2 separate regions of the Homo sapiens genome follow, and region 1 is linked to region 2. Evidence: promoter capture Hi-C in human tissues and cell types (Jung and others, 2019). All regions are on one chromosome and are shown on one strand. The core of a region is centred on a gene start or on the middle of the fragment in contact, and the rest is flanking DNA. Distances in the headings are between cores, read along the strand shown. Region 1 has its middle 36 kb from the start of CYP2B6. Region 2 holds the start of CYP2F1 (cytochrome P450 family 2 subfamily F member 1).

What was found. Contacts are between HindIII fragments. The study calls those that stand out against the background at their distance.
Region 1: a contact is called between a fragment that was not itself captured here and the fragment with the promoter of CYP2F1 in region 2, in 2 of the 25 tissues and cell types used here (IMR-90 fibroblasts and stomach).

What each region holds. Positions count from the first base shown.
Region 1 is chr19:40,952,413-40,958,888 of GRCh38, forward strand. No RefSeq gene overlaps it. Among named protein-coding and RNA genes, the nearest start is that of CYP2B6, 36 kb to the right of the region's middle. The HindIII fragment of the contact is 3,838 bases long and covers 602-4,439 here.
Region 2 is chr19:41,109,665-41,116,003 of GRCh38, forward strand. CYP2F1 (cytochrome P450 family 2 subfamily F member 1) reads left to right here and starts at 4,768. Exons shown (of 10, transcript NM_000774.5): 1 at 4,768-4,828. The HindIII fragment of the contact is 13,902 bases long and covers 1-6,339 here.

The DNA of each region.
Region 1 (6,476 bases), core at 1,271-3,770, 160 kb before region 2:
GTTCCATGGGGGATTCTTTCAGATTGAGTGGTCAGAGAGGGCTTCTTTGAGAAGGCTTCTGAGAGTTGGCCATGAGAAGGTGTGGTGAGAAGCCTTCTCAGCTGAGGGAACAGCAAGGTAAAAGGCCCGGAGGTGAGAAAGCAAACTTGGCACCTTCCGGGAGCAAGCAGGCATTGCCTCTGATAATGTTTCCTCCTGGTAAAATGACAGCTCTGGGAGGGCAGGGTTCTTATTTCCTATCTATCTATCTATCATCTATCTATCTATCTATCTATCTATCTATCTATCTATCTATCTATCATCTATCTATCATCTATCTATCTATCATCTATCTATCTATCTATATCTATCTGTCTATCTAATCACCTATCTTTCTATGTATCTATCATCTATGTATCTATCCATCTGTCTTTATTTATTTATAGAGTCAGAGTCTTGCTCTGTTGCCCATTGTATTAGTCCGTTTTTATGCTGCTGATAAAAACATACCTTAGACTGGGTAATTTATAAAGAAAAAGAGGTTTAATAAACTCACAGTTACACATGACTGGGGAGGCCTCACAATCATGCTGAAAGGCAAAAGTCACATCTTACATGGCGCTGGCAAGAGAGAGAATGAGAACCAAGTGAAAGGGGTTTTCCATTATAAAACCAACAGATCACATGAGACTTATTGACTAGTATGAGGACAGTATGGGGGAAACCACCCCTATGATTCAATGATCTCCCACCGGGTCCCTCCCACAACATGTAGGGATTATGGCAGCTACAATTCAAGATGAGATTTGGATGGGGACACAGCAAAACCATATCACCCAGACTGGAGTGCAGTGGTGTGATCATGGCTCATTGCGGCCTCCAACTCCTGGATTCAAGCAATCCTCCCATCTCAGCCTCCTGAGTAGTGAGGACTAAGTTTGTGATACCACCTCTGGCTAACTTTTAAATATTTTGAAAGGATGTAGTCTTGCTATTTTGCCCAGGCTGGTCTTGTACTCTTGGTCTGAAATGATCTCCCCATCTTGACGTCCCAAAGCACTGAGATTACAGGTGTGAGCCATTGCACCTGGCAGGTTCTCATTTACTTAATTATTACTGTTGTCATGGTTTGCTTTGGTCCCTGTGGGTTCCCCCACCCTCCAGAACAAGTGCCTGACATATAGTAGGGTTCACAATAAATATTTGTGGAGTAAATAAGAGCTGAGCCTTCAAGGGATCCAAAATACTTGCATGGAGTTTTTCTAGGTGGGTACAATGCCACCCAGCTGCATGACTATTTCAGGGTGTTCATTGGCTCCTTTGGGTGATATTTTGACATCTATATAAGAACTCCCACTTCTCCAAATCTGGGGGCCACATCTTTAGAGTTCTCAGCTTCCCGTCTGTCAGGAATGAAGGAGATAATATCACTGATTGGAGCCAGATTGTCTGGATGTTGAATCCCAGCTCCTTGCTGGTGCCCTTGAGAAGTGACTTAAGCCCTCTGTGTGCCTTATTTCTGCCTCTGTAAGCAGAGATCATCATAGCACCTCTAATGTGGGGCTGTTTGAAGATTCAGTGAGGTATGTGCAAAGAGCTTTTTGCACTTCCAAAAAGTGTCTGGGATATCATTGTGCACTGTAAGAATGCACTGTAACAATTATCATTGAGTCTTCTTGTTGGGATTAAAAGAGATCAGGTCTGTCAGGGCCTGGTACAGAAGTGGTATCAGAAAAATAATGACGTGCCGGCTGCTCACAAGGCTTCCCAGGCCAAGCTGGTGTGGGAAAGAGAGTTTCTGGAGTACCAGATGAGTTGGTCTCCCCTATGTGAGACACCCATGGGGAGCCATGGGCGGCCTCTGAGGAGAAAAGTCTCCTTATTGTCTTTATGTCTTTATGCTCCCAGAGCATACCTGCTCAGCGGCATTCCACAGGTTGCTCAGGGAGATAACACTTCCTTAAAGCAGTGAAGTACAATCAAACATCTTGGCTTCTTCTGAAACCCACTCCCACCCATTTCAGTCCTGATAAGATTTTAAGTAGTTTAGACACACGCCTTTGCTCAAGGAAATTCACAGAAACTGCCACTGCTCTACATCTTATTGAATAACTCACGAGTTCTCCTTCATTGATTAATCCTTTTTCTCATCCCTTCCTTGCCTTCTCATCTGCCCTAAGAACAAAGAGCTTGTAAGCCAATAAATTAGGCAGAGCCAAAGAGCTCTGGGCCATGAGCAAGCCTCTGACACTCTGGTCCCCCGGACCCACCTTTTAAATTCTCACTCTGTTTCTTTCTAACTCTTTAGTCTCCGTTGGACTCGCGGTACCTGCAGGGTGGTGTGGGGCTGGTTTCCCCAACATCTGGCGCCCAACGTGGGACTCCCCGTTATCTCTACAAATAATCTGGTGAAGGAATGCTAGAGCATGGAAAGTGGAAGATGACAGAAAAAGGGTGCCTGAATATGTTTTCACTTCAAGCTCTGTGGATAAGTAGTGTGCTTGGAGAATTCCACGGTAACCTCGGGAAAACGGGTCAGGCTGAGAGTAAATTTGCTAATTACTTAAGCTTGGTGTGGCAGTTATTGTGCCACAGAGGGGCAATTGTGAGTACCCAAAATCTCACATCTTTGTTCCAGCTCATAGAAAAGTATTCCCCTTGGTTCCCGGAATATGGAACCATGAATGTAAAAGACTGCGACAAGTTCGGAGCAGACTTAAAATGAGCACAACAAGAGGGCTACAATATTCCCTTGTCTGCTTGGTCTGTGTGGTCAGCAATCAAAATACCACTGGAGCCTTTCCACACTGAGGAGGATGAGAAGTTTCAGGATGACATAGAAAAGTTTAATAATCAGGAGTTTGATGATCTGCAAAGTGAACCATCACAGTTTAGTTTTAAAAAGGGGGAGAAAGGGATATATGCTAACCTCCAAAAACTTATAGAAGAAACATTTCCACCTACTGCAGAAACAGTGCCACCCACTGCGCCTTTAGGGGAAGGTCCAGAATGGCCACCCCCGCCTCAGCCTTATGAATTTTTGGAATGGGAGCCTGAGACATGACTTGCTGCTCCCATTGTTGCATGCCCCACAATTAACTATGTTGAAGGGAAGCTTCAGGCTCACCCAACAGCCAATTATGGTGAGGGAATGATCCAGGCTTGTCCACCTTTTAATTATGGTAGAGGAATGCTGTGAGCAGGTCCAAATACAAATTACGGTGCAGGGACAATCCAGGCATCTATTTACCAGGCATGAGATGTGGGGGATTTGGATGCTTGGCAGTTTCTGGTAATTATTTCTCCAGCTGAGGAGCCCAGACAACATGCTGAAGCATGCTGGGAGCCATTTCCTTTTAAAATATTAAAAGACTTAAAGCAAGCAATTGGACAATATGGGCCAAATTCTCCTTAGGTTCATTCCTTGTTACAATCTGTGGCTTATAACAGGCATTTAATACCTATGGATTGGGAGGCATTAGCCCACTCTACCCTGTCCCCCACTGAGTTTCTCCAATTTAAAACCTGGCGGACAGATCAAGCAACAACAAATCAGGCATGCAGAAATGCTCAAGCCCAACCTCCTGTTAATATCACATCTGATCACTTGCTTGGAATCAGACAGGCATGGGGTACTCTAAATTGACAGATGGTAATGGGTGATGAGACTGTTGATCAGCTCAGAACTATATGCCTCAGAGCCTGGGAAAAAATTCACGACCCTGGTACTACTTATACTTCTTTTAACTCAGTTCAACAGGGTCCAAAGGAGCCTTATCCAGATTTTATCACCCATTTGCAAGACACGGCTCAAAAGGCTATTTTGGATTCTCATGTCAGGAAAGTGATAGTTCAGCTGCTTGCTTATGAAAATGCTGATACAGAATGTCAGGCAGAAATTAGACCTATTAAGGGAAAGGCAGATCTAAATGAGGAAAAAACTTTAAGTGAATACATTAAAGCCTGTGATGGCATTGGAGGCACTTGAATAAGGCCAGCCTTCTTGCTCCGGCAATGGCTAGACTAAGGGTAACAAAAAACATATGAGTGTTCCCCAGATCTTGCTATAATTGTGGACAGATAGGACATACAAAAAGAGAGTGTACAAAAAAGGCAAAACTTAGGAGGAAAAAGCAGGGAACCAGGTACCTGTCCCAGATGTAAAAAAGGAAAACACTGGGCTAATCACTGTCATTCAAAGTTTGATAACAGCGGACAGCCCTTGCCAGGAAATGGACAGAGGGGCCAGCCACAGGCCCTAATTCAAAATGGGGCATTCCCAATTCAGGACAGGACGTCCCTGACTACAAATGGGGTGTTCCCAGCCCAGTCTTTCCCTGTACAAATGTGCAGCAATTGTTCCCCTCCACAGCTAAAAGTGGGGCAGTAGATTTATGCTGTACTGAAGCTGTATCCCTCCTTCCTGGGGAGCCTCCTAGGAAGGTCCCAATGGGAGCTTATGACCCATTGCCAGATGGCAAGGTGGGAAGGTCCAACTTAAATTTAAAGGCAATTCAAGTACACACTGGAGTAGTGGACTCTGATTGCCAGGGAGAAATTCAAATTGTTATCTCCTCCACTGTTCCCTGGAGTGCTAATCCAGGTGACAGAATAGCTCAACTGTGGCTTTTACTGTATATTAATTTAGAAGAAAGCTCAGAAAAAAGAACAGAATAATTTGGAAGCACAAATTCAGCAGGCAAGCCTCCCTATTGGTAAATCAAGTCTCTGACAATAGATCTATTTGTATGGTCACTATTCAAGGAAAACAATTTGAGGGTGTGGTCGACACAGGAGCAGATGTGTCCATCATAGCTCTTTATCAATGACCAAAAAAGTGGCCCAAACAAAAGGCCCCAGTGGGTCTTGTTGGGGTTGAGGGTTTGCTTGTATCTCACCAGGAGAGAATCAGCTTCCTGTCTGGGTACCCACAAGACATCTTAAGTTGTGCCATGAGCCAGAACCCAAGGAAGAGGAAAAGACCTCGGAATGTCTCTGCACCCCCAGTTCATCAGATGGCTCAGATGAACATCTCTGTTGAGCAGATGGAAACCAGTAAAACTCACCAAGCAACTCCACTGACCTGGGGGCAGATGAAGAGACTAGCTCACGTTGCAGAAGAGAACCTGAGGTCTCAGAACAAGCCGCTGACCACCAGTAATCTAATGGTAGCTATGATGGTGGTAATCTCCTTGGTGTGTCACCTTGTAGCTGAGGCAGATCAAAATTACACTTATTGGACCTAAATTCCATTCCCACCACTGATTAGGCCTATTACATTGTTAGACCCCCCAGTAGAGGTTTATATTAATGATAGTGTCTGGATGCCTGGACCAACAGACAACCAAGGTCCTACTCATCCAGAGGAGGAAGGAATGTTGTAGCCATGACCTTTAATCAGATGGTCCCATTGCAGAGTTGTGTTAAACCTCCTTTTATGTTGGCAGTGGGAAAAATTAATATCCTAGCTGATTCTCAAACCATATCATGCCTCAACTGTCATCTTTTTACCTGCATTAATTCTACCTTTAATAAAGATAATAGCATGTTACTGTTTAGGGCCCGAGAAGGAGTTTGGATACCTGTTCCCCTCAATAGACCTTGGGAGGCCTCTCCCTCTATACATATTATCACTGAAGTACTAAAAGGAATACTTAATAGATCAAAATGATTCATATTTACTTTAATAGCTGTGATCATGGGCCTTATAGCTGTCACAGCTACTGCTGCTGCTGCTGGTGTTGCTTTGCACTCTTCTATTCAAACTGTGGGCTTTGTGGATAGTTGGCAGAAAAATTCTTCTAAGCTTTGGAATTCCCAAAGCCAAATAGATCAAAAATTGGCAAATCAAATTAGTGATCTCCGTCAAACAGTAATTTGGATGGGAGATTGGATTATGAGCTTGGAGCAATGTGATTGGAATACTTCTGATTTTTATATTACTTCTAGCTTTTATAATGCCACTGTACACCATTGGGAGATGATTAGATGTAACCCACAAGGAAAAGAAGATAATTTAACCCTAGATATTGCTAAACTGAAAAAACAACTTTTTGAGGTATCTCAGGCTCGTCTCAACCTGTTGCTCGGAGCTGATATTCTTGCTGGAGCCACTGATGGCCTTTCTAATACCAATCCTTTAAAGTGGATTAAAACCATAGCTGGATCAACAATTGCAAATTTTATTTTGGTTTACGTATGTTTATGCTGTTTGTTTTTAGTCTACAGATGCAGACGACGCCTTCGGAGAGAAGCCAGACACTGTGAACGAGACATGATAGTAATAGCGGTTATTAATAAAAAAAATTAATAGAGACAAAAAAAGGGAGACCTGCGGGAAAAAGAGTTTCTGGAGTGCCAGATGAGTTGGTCTCCCCCGTGTGAGACACCCATGGGGAGCCATGGGCAGCCTCTAAGGAGAAAAGTCTCCTTATTGCCTTCATGTCCTTATGCCCTGAGAGCATAACCGCTCAGTGGCATTTCACAGGTTGATCAGG
Region 2 (6,339 bases), core at 3,518-6,017:
GCCCATCTCAGCCTCCCAAAGTGCCGAATTACAGGCATGAGCCACCATGCCCGGCCAGCTTATTGGCTCTTTATGAAAAATATTCAATAGAGAGAAGAAAACAAATCACACAGGAAATGAAAACATGACACAGCCACTTTGGAAAAGAGTTTGGAAGTTTCTTATAAATATACACTCATCATAGAACCCAGCAGTCACACTCACAGATATATCCAGATACACGAAACATAGATCCCCACAAAGACATATGCATATATGCCAAGAATAATACATATTATTCAAAATAGCCAGACCTTGGGAACAATCCACATTTCCATCAACTGGTGAAAAGCAAATTGTGGCACATCTATATGCGGTGACATGCTACTCTGCAATGAAAAGGAATGAGCTTCTGATGTATGTAACACATGGTTAACTCTCAAAAGCATTACGTATGCTTCCCAGAAGCAGGCTTGGTATATGGAAGAAATGCTGTAGATTTTCTTTTCTTTTTTTTTTTTTTGAGACGGAGTCTCGCTCTGTCGCCCAGGCTGGAGTACAGTGGCATGATCTTGGCTCACTGCCACCTCCGCCTCCCAGGTTCAAGTGATTCTCCTGCCTCAGGCTCCCGACTAGCTGGGATTACAGGCACCCTCCATCAAGTCCAGCTAATTTTTGTATTTTTCATAGAGAGAGGGGTTCACCACGTTGGCCAGGCTGGTCTCAAATTCCTGACCTCAGGTGATCCACCCGCCTCAGCCTCCCAAAAAGCTAAGATTACAGGCGTGAGCCACCATGCCCAGCCGTAGATTTTCATTTATATGAAATGTAGATCAATAGTGGGAAGAAAAAACTAGAACAGGGCTGGATGCAGTGGCTCAAGCCTGTAATCCCAGCACTCTGGGAGGCTGAGGCAGAAGGATTGCTTGAGCCCAGGAGTTCGAGATCAGCCTGGGCAACATAGGGAGACCTCTGCCTCTACAAAAAATTTTTAAATTAGCCAGTTGTGATGGCACAGGCCTCTACTTCCAGCTACTCAGGAGGCTGAGGCCGGGGGATCATTTGAGCCAGGGAGGTCAAGGTTGCAGTGAACAATGATCACACCACTGCACTCCAGCCTGGGGGACAGAGCAAGACCCTGTCTCAAAAGAAGAGAAAAAAACCTAGAACAATGGTTGCCCACAAGAGATGGAGCATGGTTGACTAGGAAGGAGTAGGAAGGAGGGTTCTCTTTTCATTATTATTATTACTTTAGAGAAGGGAGTCTCTCTTTGTCACCCAGGCTGGAGTGCAGGGGTGTGTTCATAGCTCACTGTAGCCTGGAACTCCTGGGTGCAAGTGATCTTCCACCTCAGCCCCTTGAGTAGCTGGGATTACAAGCGTGCACCACCACACTTAGCTATTGTTTTTTTCTTTTTTTTAGTAGAGACAGGGGTCTCGCAATGTTGCACAGCCTGGTCTCAAATTTCTGGCCTCTAGTGATCCTTCCACCTCAGCCTCCTATAGCTAGGATTATAGGCACAAACCACCACGCCCAGCTCCAAGAGAACTTTCTTGGATGATGAAAATATTCTGTATCTTCACAGGGATTTCGATACCTTCAAAATTCAGCAAATGTTCACTTACCATGTGTGTATTTCATCACAGGTAAATTTTACCTAAAGAAATCGTTAAGGGAAAACTCCATCTACACACCTTCACAGGAACTATGACACAGTAAATAGAATCAAGTCCTCCAGTTGGCGATGGAATGGGATCTGGCACACCAGAAGGGGGCTCACCTAAGCCTGACATGGGACACTGTGTGGTTCTAGCAGGAAGGAAGGCTGCATGTGCCGTCCAGATGCCAGTGGGCAAGAGGACAGGATGATGGAGGATGCGCCCGCTTACTGCCCATTGCTGCCATTCTCTCCGTGAGATAAGAAGCGGGTTCATCAACAAAGAGTGAGGTGACTGAAGAGGGTTTTGGAGTTTGAGGAGGCAGGAACAAAAGGATAGGAATAGGGCGGGGGGAGTTCCAAGAGAGGACAATGAGAGGCGAGGCATTTTTCCACCACGGAGTGTGTTTCAGCTTTCTGCAATACCCCAGCGGTTCTCAACTGGGTTGATTTTTTTCCTCCCAAGGGGACATTCAATAGTATCTGGAGTCATGTTTGTTTGTAACAACTGGTAGGGAATGAGTGGGTGGGTTCTGTCATCTACTGAGTAGAAACCAAGGACACTGCTAAACATCCTACCACACACAGGATGCAGCCCCCACCACCCATGAAGGCCCAAGACATCAACAGCAGTGAGTTGAGAAATTGCAATACATCCCTTCCTTGCCCCAAGTTCCCTCTGTAGCAGGAGAGCAAGTCAGAATAACAGAACTCAAAGCCTCTTAAAACCCCCCTTCTCGGCCACACATGGTGGCTCACGCCTGTAATCCCCAGAGGCCCAGGTGGGAGGATCGCTTGAGCCCAGGAGTTGGGGACCAGACTGGGTGACATAGCATGCTAGATCTCATCTCTACTAAAAATTTTAAAAATTAGCCAGGTGTGGTGATGCGTGCTTGTAGTCCCAGCTACTTGGGAAGCTGAGGCAGGAGAATCCCTTAAGCCCAGGAGATCGAGGCTGCAATGAGCTATGATCACACCACTAAACTCCAGTCTGGGTGACAGAGTGAGACCCTGTGTCAAAACAAACTAACTAACTGCCCTTCCCATAAATCCCAGTTTCCCCAATCAGGTGGTCCCATTAGGCCCATCTTTTTTTTCTTTTTTTTTCTTTTTTTTGAGTCAAAGTTTCACTCTTGTTGCCCAGGCTGGAGTGCAATGGTACAATCTCAGCTCACTGCAACCTCCACCTCCCGGGTTCAAGTGATTCTCCTGCCTCAGCCTCCTGAGTAGCTGGGATTATAGGCAAGCACCACCACGCCTGGCTAATTTTTTTTGTATTTTTAGTAGAGACAGGGTTTTGCCATGTTGGTCAGGCTGTCTCAAACTCCTGACCTCAGGTGATCCACCCACCTCGGCCTCCCAAAGTGCTGGGATTACAGGCATGAGCCACCACGCCCAGCCTCATTAGGCCCCTCTTAACCAAGTTCTAGGGTGAGGGATAAGTTGCTTACAGGGTTGGCGTGGATACAGCACTACACCCTCCCCTTAAAAGTAGGGAGTAGACGCCAAGGGAAACTAGAGCTATATAATCCCATCATCAAGCCTTCAGCCCTCTTCCAGGACCTGCCCCAACCGGCCTATCCAGGACTGAAACAACAGCATGGGCCCCACCTCCACCCCACCATATGCCTGGGACCTAGGGTGTCAAATTCCCCAGGACCTCCAAACACTTCCTCCTCTGCCCCTCTGAGAACAGCAATCCTGGTGCACACCCACGAACCTGTGGGGGTACCCACACCTCCACCTGGCCTCCCAGACCCTTGACCGCAGGGGCTCTCCACCCAGCCTAGCCCCTGGCACCAGAGCCCTGGCCCAGCTCCAGGTTTTGCATTCTGCCCTTGTGACCTGGCCAGGAGGTGGGTAACTAGGGCCAGTTTCTTCTTCTTTTTTTTTTTTTTTTTTTTTTGAGACCGAGTCTCACCCTGTTGCCCAGGCTGGAGTGCAGTGGCATGTTCTTAGCTCACTGCAACCTCCACCTCCCGGGTTCAAGCGATTCTCCTGCCCCAGCCTCCCAAGTAGCTCAGACTACAGGCGTGAGCCACCATGCCTGGCTAATTTTTGTATTATTAGTAGAGACAGGGTTTCACCATGTTGGCCAGGCTGGTCTTGAACTCCTGACCTCAGGTGATCCACCCACCTCGGCCTCCCAAAGTGCTGGGATTACAGGCGTGAGCCACTGCGCCTGGCCTACTAGGGTGAGTTTCTAAGGCAGGAGCTGAGAGTAGACATGGCTAGTAGGGTGCTCAGGAGGGCAGGAGGAGGGCTGTTTATGAGCCAGTGGTGGGAGAGAGTGTCATTCTAGTCTGAGAGGCTTTTTCCCTGTGGCTTCCAGCTCTGCCCTTTTCTTAAACACTCCTTCAGCCTCAGCTTGGCTTCAGTCCCACCAAGTGCAGTCTGACTCGTGGAGACATGAGAGATAGAGAGAGTGAGAGACCAGAGAGATCAGGAGACAGTGACTGAGAGGGACTTACAGGGAGATCAGGGAGAGAAGCAGAGAGAAGGAGAAAGCCCAGAGAGCATAAGAAATGAAGACCCAGAGACACCAAAGGAGGGAGAGACAGAGACACAGAGAGACAAAAAGATTCAGAGGCAGAGACTGTAGAGGCAGAAGCAAAGCAAGACACAGAGCATTTCAGAGACCCACGGCAAGAGACAGGGAACAGCATGGAGAACTATGAAAAAATAGGCTTCCAGAGAAAGAGAAAACTCCAGCTCTGGAGGGAAAGGGACTTAGCCAGGGCCACTCGGCCCATCAGTGGCAGAAATGGACTTGAACCCAGAGAAAAAGAAACAAGTGCCCCAAATACCAAAGGAACCCAGCCCCCATCCCTGGCCCATCATTTTGCGACAGCCCCATGACTACCCCAAAACCAGGCCCAGGCTCCAACTGGCAAAGCAAAAAAAAAAAACAAAGAAAGAAAGAAAGCTTTGCCCCATCCCAGGAGGGCCCCCAGGCGCAGCCCCCTCCCACGGCACCTTTCCAGCTGGCTGTGAGCCCTAGGGCCGCAGGAAAGGTATGGCAAGATGATGGGAGGGATTTAAAGTTCACAGCGAGAACAAGAAAAGTGGGGTTAAGGAGGAGGGTGTGGGCAGAAACAACTTAAGAACAACCTCTGCCCCACCACCCCCCAAGCACACCCAGAGCTGCAGGCTCTAGCGCATCCCAGCCAGTGTCTCCTGCAGCTCAGCAGGTAAAGGGCCCCGGTGAGGGAGGCAGAGAAGGAGGGGGTGTCTCCCAAGAGAGGGTGGGTCGCCAGCTCCAATCTCTGTCTCTGAGACTGGCTAGGAATCTTTTTTGCTGTTTCCTCTGAGAGCTCTCATGTCCCTGTTCTGAGCACTGGGATTTCTTTACTGGTGCTTCACCAAGTAGGTGGCTTCTCTCTCTGCAATGCAACCCCATGGTTGGCAACACTTGATTTTTTCCTGTCACTGTTTCTGCCTGTGCCCTTCCTCTCTGTCTCCGTCTCTTTCTCTCTCTCTCTCTCTCTTTTTTTTTTTTTTTTTTTTTTTGAGGCTGGAGTGCAGTGGTTCAATCTCAGCTCACTGCAACCTCCACCTCCTGGGTTCAAGCGATTCTCCTGCCTCAGCCTCCTGAGTAGCTGGGATTACAGGTGCCTAACACCACGCCTGACTAATTTTTGTGTTTTTAGTAGAGACAGGGTTTCACCATGTTGGCCAGGCTGGTCTCAAACTCCTGACCTCAAGTGATCCGCCTGCCTCGGCCTCCCAGAGTGCTGGGATTACAGGCGTGAGCCACCGTGCCCGGCCTCAGTCTCTCTTGGTCTGCCCTTTGCAGCCTACCCGTCTCTTTGTGTGGCTCTAATATTCCCTGCCTCTCTTATTCTCTCTCTCTCTCTCTCCATCTCTGTCTATGTGACTCTGTCTTTGTGTATCTGTTTCTGTCTGTCATTCTCGTCTCCCTCAGTCTCTGTGTCTAGCTCTGTCTCTCCCTCTCTCTGTCCCTCTTACCCTTTTTCTCTCCATCCTTCCATGTCCCTCTCTGTCTCTCAGTCAGTGTCCATCTCACTGTCTCTCCACTCAATCTCCCTTGTCTTTCTCTAGCTCTGTGTCTGTCTAGTTCTGTCTCTTTCTTTCTCTAGTCTATGTCAGCCTCTCTCTTTCTGTGATGTGCTCTCTGGCTCTCCCTATCTCTGTGTTTGTCTGTCTCTGTCCCTGTGTGTCTTGATCTCTCTTTATCACTGTCTCTGTATGACAGTCTCTTGACAGACAGGTGATGATAGATAGATAATAGACAGATGATACACAGATGATAGATTATGAAGATAGTAGATAGATGATAGATATAGATAGATAATAGATGATAGATAATAGACAGATCAATGATAGATGATAGAAGAATAGATAGATGATGGATAGACAGATGATAGATGATAGATAGATAGATAGATGATAGATAGATGTTGATAGATGTTAGATAATAGATGAGAAACAAAGAAAGAAAGAAAAAGAAAAAAGAAAGAAAGAAAAAGAAAGGAAGGAAGGAAGGAAAGAAAGAGTGATAGATGATAGATGGCTGATAGGTAGACAGACATCTGTAGATATGTAGATCGCTCACTGTTTTTCTGTCTCTCTCATTATCTTTATGCATATCTCTTGGCCTCTCTTAGTCTCTGTTCCTCTATCACTTGCCTCTCTCCATTTATGTCTCTGTGTTTCTGTCTCCTTATCTGTCTATATGTTG